Linked DNA regions of Homo sapiens: regions 1 and 3 are each linked to region 2. The links are contacts of gene promoters, found by promoter capture Hi-C in human tissues and cell types (Jung and others, 2019). All regions are on one chromosome and are shown on one strand. The core of a region is centred on a gene start or on the middle of the fragment in contact, and the rest is flanking DNA. Distances in the headings are between cores, read along the strand shown. Region 1 holds the start of MTA1 (metastasis associated 1). Region 2 holds the start of AKT1 (AKT serine/threonine kinase 1). Region 3 overlaps ATP5MJ (ATP synthase membrane subunit j).

What was found. The method cuts DNA at HindIII sites, captures the fragments that hold promoters and counts their contacts. A contact is called where the count stands out against the background at its distance.
Region 1: the fragment with the promoter of MTA1 here is called in contact with the fragment with the promoter of AKT1 in region 2 in 1 of the 25 tissues and cell types used here (spleen).
Region 3: a fragment that was not itself captured here is called in contact with the fragment with the promoter of AKT1 in region 2 in 1 of the 25 tissues and cell types used here (dorsolateral prefrontal cortex).

What each region holds. Positions count from the first base shown.
Region 1 is chr14:105,418,278-105,422,371 of GRCh38, reverse strand. MTA1 (metastasis associated 1) reads right to left here and starts at 2,545. Exons shown (of 21, transcript NM_004689.4): 1 at 2,309-2,545. The coding sequence starts at 2,336. It overlaps MTA1-DT (MTA1 divergent transcript), which reads left to right and starts at 2,633. Exons shown (of 2, transcript NR_125385.1): 1 at 2,633-3,350; 2 at 4,063-4,094. RefSeq lists enhancers at 1-332, 333-1,000, 3,679-4,094 and silencers at 2,452-2,711, 2,802-2,851, 2,882-2,981. The HindIII fragment of the contact is 32,458 bases long and covers 1-4,094 here.
Region 2 is chr14:104,793,121-104,797,064 of GRCh38, reverse strand. AKT1 (AKT serine/threonine kinase 1) reads left to right here and starts at 1,317. Exons shown (of 15, transcript NM_001382430.1): 1 at 1,317-1,581; 2 at 3,761-3,938. RefSeq lists enhancers at 1-168, 2,210-2,851, 2,852-3,491, 3,492-3,944 and silencers at 1,006-1,365, 1,546-1,595, 1,626-1,945. The HindIII fragment of the contact is 31,557 bases long and covers 1-3,944 here.
Region 3 is chr14:103,915,944-103,919,140 of GRCh38, reverse strand. All of the region lies in intron 1 of ATP5MJ (ATP synthase membrane subunit j), which reads left to right. Among named protein-coding and RNA genes, the nearest start is that of ATP5MJ, 4.0 kb to the left of the region's middle. The HindIII fragment of the contact is 7,772 bases long and covers 1-3,197 here.

The DNA.
Region 1 (4,094 bases), core at 1,296-3,795, 620 kb before region 2:
CTCTTTCTTGTCTGGGGGCTCAAGAATCCAGACGCCCACCTCCCCGAGCGAGCACCAAGACAGGAAGCCAACCTGCAATGCCCAGCCCACTGCGACCACAGGGCTCTGCCGGGGTCCTGCCGGAACCCAGGGTTCCGGTCCAGAAGCCAGGGATAAATGCCGCTTCTCCTATAGGGACAGTCAGAGTAGAGAGGGGGAGGCCTACAGTCTCACCTGCAGGGAGAGGAAGTCCTCGGGGCGGGCACGTGGGGGGCCTGACAGCTCCGAGCACACCCGGCCACAGTGACCACGGACTGCACACGCAGAAGCAGTCTGGATCCCACGCGTGGCTGTGCTGCCAGCAGACAGCACCCAACCTCCCATGCTCCTCATCACAGGAAAAGAGACCAGCAGCATCTCTGCCAGGCATGGTGGGGCCCCTCCGCCACAGCCTAGGAGTCCAGGCCACCCACCCTCACAGCACTGGAGTGCGTGGGTCAGTGAGGCCCTGGGACGGGCCTGCGGGCACAGGGGGACAGAGGGTTCGGGGAGGGCGGCGCAGCCCCACGAAGGGCTCCTCCCAAGCCTGTGTGGGGCCCAGGGGAGCTGCACCTCCGGGATGGGACAAGGCAGGGTCCTGGCTTTCATCAGCCACAGCACAGCTGCCACAGGGCACAAAAGGACGGCTGAGAGACGAGGTCCTCACCCACACCATGGGGAAACCGAGGCATGGGAAGGTTGGAGGGGGGGCAGCCAGGCTGGCGCCAAGATCACAGGCAGGCAGGCCTGAAGGCCGAGCAATGCAGCCACTAGGAAGGCATGAGTTGGGGTCGGGGTGTCCCCAGCCCTAGAGCCCAAAGCTGCCACCACTCCCCACCCCCAACATGGGTGGGGGCAGGGAGAGCTCTTCTTGGGACCAATCCCAAAACCATGCGCAGTGGGCCCGGCTGGAGCCCAGGCAGCAGGCATCCTCTCTGCCAGGGTGAGAAACTGGGCCCTCATGTCAGGCTGGAAGGGGGGTCTCCAGGTGGGGAGAAAGAACAGGAAGGAACAGGCCCCTCCCTCGAGGGACCCCGCACCCAGGCTGCTCCCTGAGCGTGGGGTGGGCTCAGCGCACCTGGGTCCACACAGGGACCTGGCAAAGCTGTATGAGGCTGTGGGAGGGGCTGCCGCTGGATGGGGTACAGGCCCACCGCCCCTCTGAGAGGACAGGGGAGGCCCAGAGCTGCTGATGCGGACTGACCGCCCATCTCACAGACGGGATGTAGGGGGCTCCCACCGTCCCCAAGGTCACAGGACTGGCCGGCCAGACCACACGGCGTCCAAGGCAGCAGAAGCCACGCTCGAGAGACACAGAGTGTTCTGGGCACTCGGGGTCAGGGGCATGGGGATCAAGCCAGAGCGGGAGTGACCCCAGCTCCCTCCAGCAGCGCAGGCTGCAGGTGGGAAAGGTAATGAGCACCTGCCCGAGAGGGTCACAGGCAGGGAGGGGTCTCAGAGTCCTGGGGAGGGAGGCGCTGATGGAATGATGGAATGCACACGACCCCCCACCTTCCTGTGAAAGACCCCACGGAGTCCCAGGCACACGAAGGAGGGCAAGGCTCAAAGCTGCAGGCCCGGGGGGCCCGAGCAACAGGAGGCTGGGCCCACGGAGGAAGCCCCTGCCCAGGAGGCCCTCCGGCCTCTCCCCAACCCTTGCAAAGCGCCTCCCGAATGGGCTGAGGTGAGCGAGAGGCAGGGAAAAGTTTGGGGGGACTTAGAGGCGTGCTCGGGATGCTCGCTCCCTGCTGAAGACCCCCTGAGGGATCCCTGCTGGGGGAAGCCCCGGGGCCAGGCTGCAGGAGGGCTCTAGGGAGGAACGTGGCCCCTCACCGGGGCTCCCCATCCCCAGAGGGGATGCACCGGAGTCCCAGCACAGGGCCGCGGGCCGGGGGAGACCCCACAGCCCCAAAACTCCTGCTCCCAGACCGGCAGCCGGCGCCTCCCAAGGCCACGTGCTCCCGCTGGGGGCTCCCGGCCCCGGACCCCCGGATGTCCCGCAGGCCCCGCGCCCCCCCGCCACCCCCGCGGCCGCCCCCTCGGCCCCAACAGGTGGGCCGCCCCCCACCCCCGGGCCGCCGAGCCCCGCCCGCCCCCGATGGGGCCGACCCGCGGGGCCATTTTGGGTTGGGGTGAGCACGGCGGGGGGCGGTTCGGGAAGGAGCCGGGGGCCGCGAGGGCGGGCGGGGGGCGCGGGGCCTGCGGGGCAGAGGGGCGGGGGAGGCGGCAGCGGCGGCGGGTGGGGGCTGCGGGCGGGTCGGGGCCGGGCATAAAGGCGGTGCGGCCTTACCTCCGACCCTGTACATGTTGGCGGCCATGTCCGGGCCGGCGGCGGCGGAGGGGCCCGGGGCGGGCGCGGCGCTCGGCGCGGGCGGCCGGGAAAATGGAGGCGCGATGGCGGGGGCGGGGGGCGCCGCAGGCGTTTAAAGGGGCCGCGCTGCTGCCGCCGCCGCCGCCGCCGCCGCCGCCGAGGCCGCCGAGGCCGCGCAGGGACGGGAGGGCCGCGGCGCGGGCGGGAGAGGAAGAGGAGGAGCGGCCGCGGGCGGCGGGGAGGGGCCTCGGGCGCCGCCGCCCACCGCACGGGCCGTTACCGACCCCGCGCCGCCCGCGGCCCGCGCGCCCCTTCCCGGACAGTTCCTCTCGGCGCCCCCGAGTCCTCCCCGCGCGCCGCTTCCCGGGTGGGCCCTTCCACCAGAACCCCCTGGTAGATCCTCCCCTGGTGCCCTGGGGGTAGAGGGGAGATCCTCCACAAGGGCCATTTCCCTGGTGATCCCTCCCTGTGCCCCACAGGTGAGTCCTGCCGTAGCTCTCCAGGGGTTCCTCCTGATGCTGGGGTCCTCCGGCATTCCTCCCTGAGCCCCCCAAGGGCCCTGAAGCTCAGCGGCCCAGCCCTGGCCTCGGGGTCCCCACCCCACACCTCCCTTCCAGGCCTAACCTTTGCCCCCGACACCAGGCAGGGCGTGTCCTTGGCCTTCGCCGCCCAGCCCGCGTGGCATCTCTGGACAGGTGGTCGTGCGCGCCTTGGTGTGGGCAGGCTCCGTAGCCGGCAAAGCCTCCCTGAACCGTGACCTGGTGAGAAGGCCGCAGAGGAGGTGCCTGTGCCCAGAGGCCACCTCCAAAGACCCCACCTGAGGCTGGAACCCAGCGCCTGCTGACCCCGCCAGCCCCAACAGGGCTGGAGTCCAGGAGCGGCCGTGCTCTTTCCGCAGTGAGGCAGCTGCCTTCTCTTCCCACCACCTGTCAGGATGCCTTCCCGTGTGTGCTTGTGCACAGGTCTAAGGAGAGGAGAGTCCAGTGAGTGACCCAGACGCCCCAGCCAGGAAGAGCATGAGGTGCGAAGGGGGCTTCCCAGATGGAGAGAAACAGATGGTCCCAGAGTGGCTTGGAGACAGGTGCAACATCAGTGTTGGGGGAGGTGAGCAAAAGGAGCTGTCTCGGGGTTCCAGGCTGCTGATGTGAGCAGCACCGTGGGTCTCTGTCCTGCCTGCTCAGATGCTGGAGGGAGCTGACATCTACTTGGGACATCCCTCTCTGTAGGACATGGAGCGGAGCGTTCAGGGCTATCAGGAGGGAGCCCCGTGGCCACGGTGCAAGATCTAGGCAGGCGGGACAGACATGGTCAGGATGCTGGGGACACAGCATGGGGAATCCAGCACACAGGACACCATCCAGGTGGGTAGGAAACAGCATGTGCTGGGAGGAAAGCCAGGTGGGGGTCCCAAGGAGAGCGGTGGCCACAATGTCATGGCTGCAGAGCAGACCAGTAAGGAAAGCCCCACCAGGGTTAGCACAGGGCCAGGAACCCGAGCTGCAGGGCGGTGCTGTCTCTGGGGAGAGAGGGCTATGGGTCCCAGGACACATCCTGCGGGCTGGGCTGCAGGGAACAGGAGCTGGCTTGCTGGTGATTGGGAGGGAAGAGCAGCCAGCCAGCGGCCAGGTGCAGGAGAGGGGCAATGACAGACAGGCAGCGTCTCTCCAGAAGGAAGGTGGGGCTGCTGGCCTCCCCTGTCCTACAGCCCCAGCCTACCTCTGTCTCCTCAGCAGGAAAGCAAAGCTGCAGCCTGAGATCTCCTTCC
Region 2 (3,944 bases), core at 68-2,567:
ATCCCACCCAAGCGGCGCAGACCACTGGGCCTCTGACTTGGCCCCCTGGAGGTGGGCCCTTCCTGGGGTTACAAAGTCTGAGCTGGGAGGGAGCAGAGGTGCTCAGGCGAGAGGCAGGAATGGGGAGTCCCCTGTCTGAGGAGCGAGTGCCCTCATGCAGGGGGAGAGAGTCCTTCTCTTGGTCAGCCCCAAGAGGCAGGGATGAAGCCCGAGTTTTGGCTGCAGACTCTGTCCTGAGCACTGGGCCGAACCTGCTGCCTCTGTCTGCATCTCCTCCCACCCCCTCCCCTGCTGCCAGCTGAACTCACTCTGGCTGAAAATAAAAATGCTCCCCCAACCCCAATACTTAGCAGCCTCAGGAAGGTAACTCACAAGAGTCTGTCTTTCACAAAAGGGTTATTATCAACTGTGGGCCTCTGGAATGGGGGAGGGGCAGTTGTCGGAGGAACTTCTGGCTAGGAAGGGGTCGGGGTGGCAGTCACCTGCACTCTCCTGTGAGTGTCCAGGAGAAAGGGGTCTGTGTCCCACTTACTCATTCCATACCCGGGCCATCTGCCTCCCAGTGGACTTCGGACTGGGTGTCCGGGCTGACCAAGTCCACCCAGCAGGGAGGGCTCTGGGCTGTCAGCTGTCACAGCCCACCCTAGACACCGCTCCTCCTCTGTCTGGTGTCTGCTCCCAGCTCAAGGTGGGAGCCAGGCAAGGTGTGCCCCTCTTCTCCCACTCCCCAGCAAAGTCCCCCTTTTGTGAGTGTAGCTGCCAGTACCTAGGTGAATGGTTGACTCCCCTCGGAGCCTTCCTGCTCCTTGGAGGCCCACCTCCAACTGACCTCCTGTCCTGGCATCCTCCCGCACTTCCCCCAGAGGCACAAGGTCTTGGGATTGGGCCTTTTAGGTCACTCTTGGCCGCCCCCTCCACGCCCCCCAGAGTGGGGCAGCCTGAAAGTCAACCTAAGCCACCCCCGCCCCGCGCGCGGAGGCAGAAGTCCGGGATTCGTCCCTGACCTGTCTCGGGCCCCTTCTGCTAGGGTCACGGCAGAGCGAGCCCAGAAGCGCCGGGTCACTTTACAGACGGGGAAACTGAGGCCAGAGAGGGCGTGGCCCCGGGACGGGCTGGCTGGTGGCCGGGCTCCGTTAGCGGCCCAGCCCAGGCCCCAGGTCGTCGGGAGCTGCCCCTCAGCCCGGCCGCGCGCTCCCCGAGCGCGCTCCGCCCTCGCCGCCGGCCGCGCGGTGGGGACGCCCCGGGCGGCGGAGGCGGATGTGGGCGGGCGGCTCCGGGCGCGGGGCGGGCGCGGGGCGGGGAGAGGGCGGGCCGGCGGCGGCGGCAGGACCGAGCGCGGCAGGCGGCTGGCCCAGCGCACGCAGCGCGGCCCGAAGACGGGAGCAGGCGGCCGAGCACCGAGCGCTGGGCACCGGGCACCGAGCGGCGGCGGCACGCGAGGCCCGGCCCCGAGCAGCGCCCCCGCCCGCCGCGGCCTCCAGCCCGGCCCCGCCCAGCGCCGGCCCGCGGGGATGCGGAGCGGCGGGCGCCGGAGGCCGCGGCCCGGCTAGGCCCGCGCTCGCGCCCGGACGCGGCGGCCCGGTGAGTCCCCGCCCGCCGTGGCCGCCCGGGCCTGGATTTCCTCCCCGCGGGCCGGGCCGCTTTGTTCGCGGCCGGTCGGGCCGGGGCGCGAGCCGCGGCGCCGCCAGAATGGAGGAGCGGGAGCAGGAAGTGGCCGAGCGGGCCTGGGCGGGGAGGGCGCGGGGCGCGCGGGCCCGGCCAAGGGAGGGCGGCCCCACGCCGGGCGCCGGGGGTGCAGGCTGCCGGCCCCAGCCTCCCTCATGACCTTGGGGAGGCCGCTCCGCCGGGCGAGGCCGGGACCCGAGAGAAGGGACGCCGCCGGGCCTGGAGCTGGGGCTCGGGGTGCCCCTGCGGGCCGTGGGGCTCCCCGGGCGCTGGGCCAGCGAGGCAGCCGGCGGAGGTGCCCCGGGGTTGGAGAAAGACTCGCCGCGGCCGGCCTTCAAGTTTGTGGGAGGGCCCCGGAAGGAGACTTCGTTTCCCACGGACGAAAAGTTGTACGTGGTGGCGGGGTACCCAGGCTAGCCACAAAGGACTGTGACCCTCCTGGGCCCCGGAACTGCTTCCTGTCTTGGGTGGGCCCTGGAGGTCCTGCCCGCCCATCCCAGAGGCCAAGGCTTGGAGGGCAGCTGGGGCTTGCCCCTTAGATTGAGTATCCTGGGGCGCTAGCGAGCTTGGTCCTGTCGGGACGGCCTCTGAGTGCTGCCTTGGTCAGCGGGTGAGCTTGGGCCCCTGCTCTGCAGCCAGAGGCCGCCCCACATTCACTCCTGGGTCTCTCGGCCTTGCTCCAGGTGGCCACTTCTTGACTGCTTTGAGTCCCTCATCCGAGCGAAGGGCGGACGGAGTCCGTTGGTGGGGGTCCGGTTGCCTCTCCCGGGAGCTGTGTAGACTTCTCATACACCAGGGTTCTGGAGGCAGATGGAGGAGCCCTTTCGAAAACAGAGTATTTTTTTTTAAGTTGTGACTTAATAATAGTAGCAAGAATATGTGCTTATGGTAAAGGCAGGCGGCAGGTACGGAGGCTGTGGGAAGTCGGGGTCCCTCCGCCCCCACAGGCAGCCCTGTGCTGGCCTGGTGTATACGTTTCTGTGCAGACGTACACCACCCTGTGTGAGCACAGATGTATTTTTACACATGGCTCTGGACAGCTGTCTGACTCTGTCAGCAGCAGGCCTTGGAGGGGCTCAGGCCCGTGTGGGGGTGGGGGGACATCCAGAGGTCTTTGAGTCCAGCCCTCTGCCTCCAGGCCACGCCCACTCAGTGTCGTCAGAGCCCCCTGTGCCTGAGGCGTGCGCGGCTCGGAGCCCTGCCCTCGGAGTCCTGCGGTGCCTTCCTCGAGTCTGGCCTGCTTTCCATCCTGCTAAGTACTTGGGGCATTTCCCTCTTTGGGTAAGGTGTGGTCTTCCCTGTCCTGGCATTAGACACAAGGCAGTGGGCCTTCCTGCCATTCTAAGTGTAGCTTAAGACAATCAGTGCAAAGCAACCCTTTGTGGGTGTCCAGCCCTTGCCTCGGGAGGCCAGAAAGGTGGCCTGGGGGGAGAGCGTCTAAGCTGGCTGTGGAAAGACCCATGTTGGGATCCATTCCACAGAGGTCGTCAGGGGTCTCTGCCTGGCCTGGAGGTCCCAGAGAGGACCCTCCTCCCCTCAGGAAGGCCCATCTGGAAGGGTAGCAGAGGACTGCTCACAGGAAGAGCATGCGAAGTGCTCTTTCTGGGGATGCCTGTAGTTGGTGATGTGGGAACTGGGTTTTGAGGGATGCCTAGGAGTTCATCCATCAGAGGGGAAATGAGGAAGCCATGCAGGATCAATGGATAAAGTGTGCTCAGGTGAGGGTTGGCTGGTGGGCCGCTGCAGGGCGGGGGCCTGTCCAGTGCTCCCCCACTTACTTGCTGCCTCCCGACTGCTGTAATTATGGGTCTGTAACCACCCTGGACTGGGTGCTCCTCACTGACGGACTTGTCTGAACCTCTCTTTGTCTCCAGCGCCCAGCACTGGGCCTGGCAAAACCTGAGACGCCCGGTACATGTTGGCCAAATGAATGAACCAGATTCAGACCGGCAGGGGCGCTGTGGTTTAGGAGGGGCCTGGGGTTTCTCCCAGGAGGTTTTTGGGCTTGCGCTGGAGGGCTCTGGACTCCCGTTTGCGCCAGTGGCCTGCATCCTGGTCCTGTCTTCCTCATGTTTGAATTTCTTTGCTTTCCTAGTCTGGGGAGCAGGGAGGAGCCCTGTGCCCTGTCCCAGGATCCATGGGTAGGAACACCATGGACAGGGAGAGCAAACGGGGCCATCTGTCACCAGGGGCTTAGGGAAGGCCGAGCCAGCCTGGGTCAAAGAAGTCAAAGGGGCTGCCTGGAGGAGGCAGCCTGTCAGCTGGTGCATCAGGTTAGG
Region 3 (3,197 bases), core at 609-3,108, 880 kb after region 2:
GAGATGCTGGGATTATAGGCGTAAGCCACCGTGCCCAGTCCATTCTCTGGATTTTTATTCCGTACCAGGCACTAGGCACTAGGCTGGGTCCTTTAGGTTTCTCCTTTGTTTTTGTTTTTGAGATGGAGTCTCGCTCTGTCACCCAGGCTGGAGTGCAGTGGTGCAATCTTGGCTCACTGCAAGCTCCGCCTCCCGGGTTCACGCCATTCTCCTGCCTCGGCCTTCCGAGTAGCTGGGACTACAGGCGCCCGCCACCACGCCCGGCTAATTTTTTGTATTTTTAGTAGAGACGGGGTTTCACCGTGTTAGCCAGGATGGTCTTGATCTCCTGACCTCTTGATCTCCCTGCCTTGGACCCCCAAAGTGCTGGAATTACAGGCGTGAGCTACCGCTCCCGGCCTTGGTTTCCTCTTTGAATTGCATTGACAGCCCTCTGGGGGCAGGTGGAGGTATCCCTGTTTCACAGAAAAAGAAACCTCTGGGTTGAGCCTGGTGGCCCACGCCTGTAATCCCTGCACTTTGGGAGGCCGAGGCGGGCAGAACACAAGGTCAGGAGATCGAGACCATCCTGACTAACACAGTGAAACCAAGTCTCTACTAAAAATACAAAAAATTAGCCAGGCGTGGTGGCGGGCACCTGTAGTCCCAGCTACTCGGGAGGCTGAGGCAGGAGAATGGTGTGAACCCGGGAGGCGGAGCTTGCAATGAGCCGAGATCCGCCACTGCACTCCAGCCTGGGTGACAGAGCGAGACTCCGTCTCAAAAAAGAGAAAAAAAAAAACCTCTGAAACAACAGCTAAAGGGACTTGCCCACAGTTGAGAGCTGACCAGGCAGAGCTGGTGTTGGAGCCCAGGATTCCCAGGCTTCCAAACCCATCGGTCCTGTAGAATGCTTCCTTCCCAGTCGTTGCTGAGAGACAAGGGATTCACTCCATGCCTCTGAACTCCTAGTCTGGGGCTTCCAGAAACCTCCTCTGGGTCTTGTTTGGATCATCTGTGACATATTCCCAAAGCAGGGCTGTTCGTTTCTTGGAACCTCACACTGTCAGAGCATTCGAGTAGCTTGAGGACAGGAAATTTGAGGGCGGACTATCTGCAAGGTGTTCCAGGAGAAGGACACAGTCGCATCCTGCAAGGTCAGACCTCAGGCCACCCTCACGACCATCCTTGCCTAAATAAGTCCTCTCATAGGGAAGAGCAGGAAAGCAGGTGTTGGAGGTAGGTTCTCGTCATCAGGAGCATGACGTACAGATTTGGTGTGAGTGCAGTCCTGCTAACCTGCTGCGGGATCCGAGTACCCGCTTTATAGGAGCTTTCTCCAAGTACCCACTTTATAGGAGTGGGAAGCAGTGTAGGAAGTAAGTACGAAAAGCACTTTTAAAATGCTGTTAAAGGGCTAGAGACAGAACTAACCACAATCAGGGCAGTCCCTGCTGTAGCTCCGGCCTGGCCTCCCCATTCTTGCCTGACTCAAGACACTAACTTAGTTCCTGGTTCGGTGCCCTGTTGGTGCTCCTCTGTCCAGTAGCTTAGCTCCCACGGTGGGGGAGGAATCGAAGGGGCTCTGCAGCCCCCACCAGCTGCCCTCGAATCCCATCCAGGCCAGTTCCAGATTCTAAACTGAATTTTCTTCATATTGTCAAAACGGGAAACAAAAAAACCCTAAAGCAAAAAAAAAAAAAGTTGTTAAATTTAGAGAACAGTTTTAGAATAAAAGCTAAATTCTATGCTAGCCTCCAAGGCCCTTAAATGACATGGCCCATCTTCCTTCCCATAGTCCAGCCATGGTATTTTATGTAACAAGCATTTAATATACAGTACCAGACACTCAACATTTGACATAGAGTTATTCTATGTTATTCTCCATAACAACCCCTTGAGGTGGATCCTGTTTTTATCCCTGTTTTACAGATGAGAAAACTTAAGCGGTTTAAGTTAGCTAGTAAGTGACAGCCAGGATTTGAATCTGGCACTGTGGCCTCCCTATTCCTTCCAGCTCTCCGAGTTCATTCTGACCTCGGAGTCTCTGCCAATGCCGAGGATTCCTCTCCCAGATATCCTGACCCTTTATTGTTTCTCAGCTCCTAAAACAATGTCTGGCACCTAGTACATGCTCAGTGCACATTTGCCAAGTGAATAAATGACCACACGATCCGGGTTTCAGTGATTTGAGGGCCGCCATTTGACCTTTGACTAGGTTGGGCTTGTGAAGGATTCAGTGCGGTAAAGCTGACACACACAGCTGCGCAGTGTGGGAAAGGGAGCACACTGCCGAGCATTCGGATTCTTTGGATCCTGAGCAGTGATGTGAAAGGAGCAGTGAGTGGGTGGAGGGAGGGAGGGGTGGAGGCAGCATTACAGCCGCAGCCAACGCGCAGTTCTTTCTTTCTTTTTTGAGACAGAGTCTCACTTTGTCACCCAGGCTGCAGTGCAGTGGTGTGATCATGGCTTACTGCATCTTCAACCACCCAAGCTCAAGCAGTCTTCCCACCTCAGTCTTCCAATAGCTGTGACTAACATAAAAAATTAGCCAGGCAAGCACCACCACACCTGGTTAATTTTTTATGTTTTGTAGAGACGGGGTCTCCCTATGTTACCCAAATTAGTCTCGAGCTCCTGGACTCAAGTGACCCTCCCACATCAGCCTCCCAAAGCGCTGGGATTACAGGCATGAGCCACCACACCCAACCAAAGCAGTTTCCAAGTGAAATGAGAAGTGCTTAGATCTAGTCACTCCTGACAGCTATTTGACTGTAGTTTAATGGACCACTTCAGATGTTAAAAAGCATATTAAAATGAAAATGAGGGCATCTAATTTGCGGTCTATAGTAGAGAGTAAATTGTAAAAGTAACAAAAAGCATTATTTTGAGACCTGCACATACAAGCAAACTGTAAGTTTGGAATTTAATGGCTTTTCCCAATCAAATTCAGTAATTCATTAAGTAACTACCTTTATTGATTAAATAAGTTCTATCTTAATTGGCAGTTATTATGAAGTGACCTCGTTGTCTTATGTCATCTGTTTTGTATTTAGCAATAGACTTCAAGATGGAGATACAGCTGATCAGAGTGTGCTGAGCCTGGCATTAGTTTCACAAGGAAATCACCATGCCCTGGCCATATTCTTTTTCAGCTTCGAATGCGACATTCATTACATGACGATGAGAAGATACTAATTTTTCGATTTAGACATTAG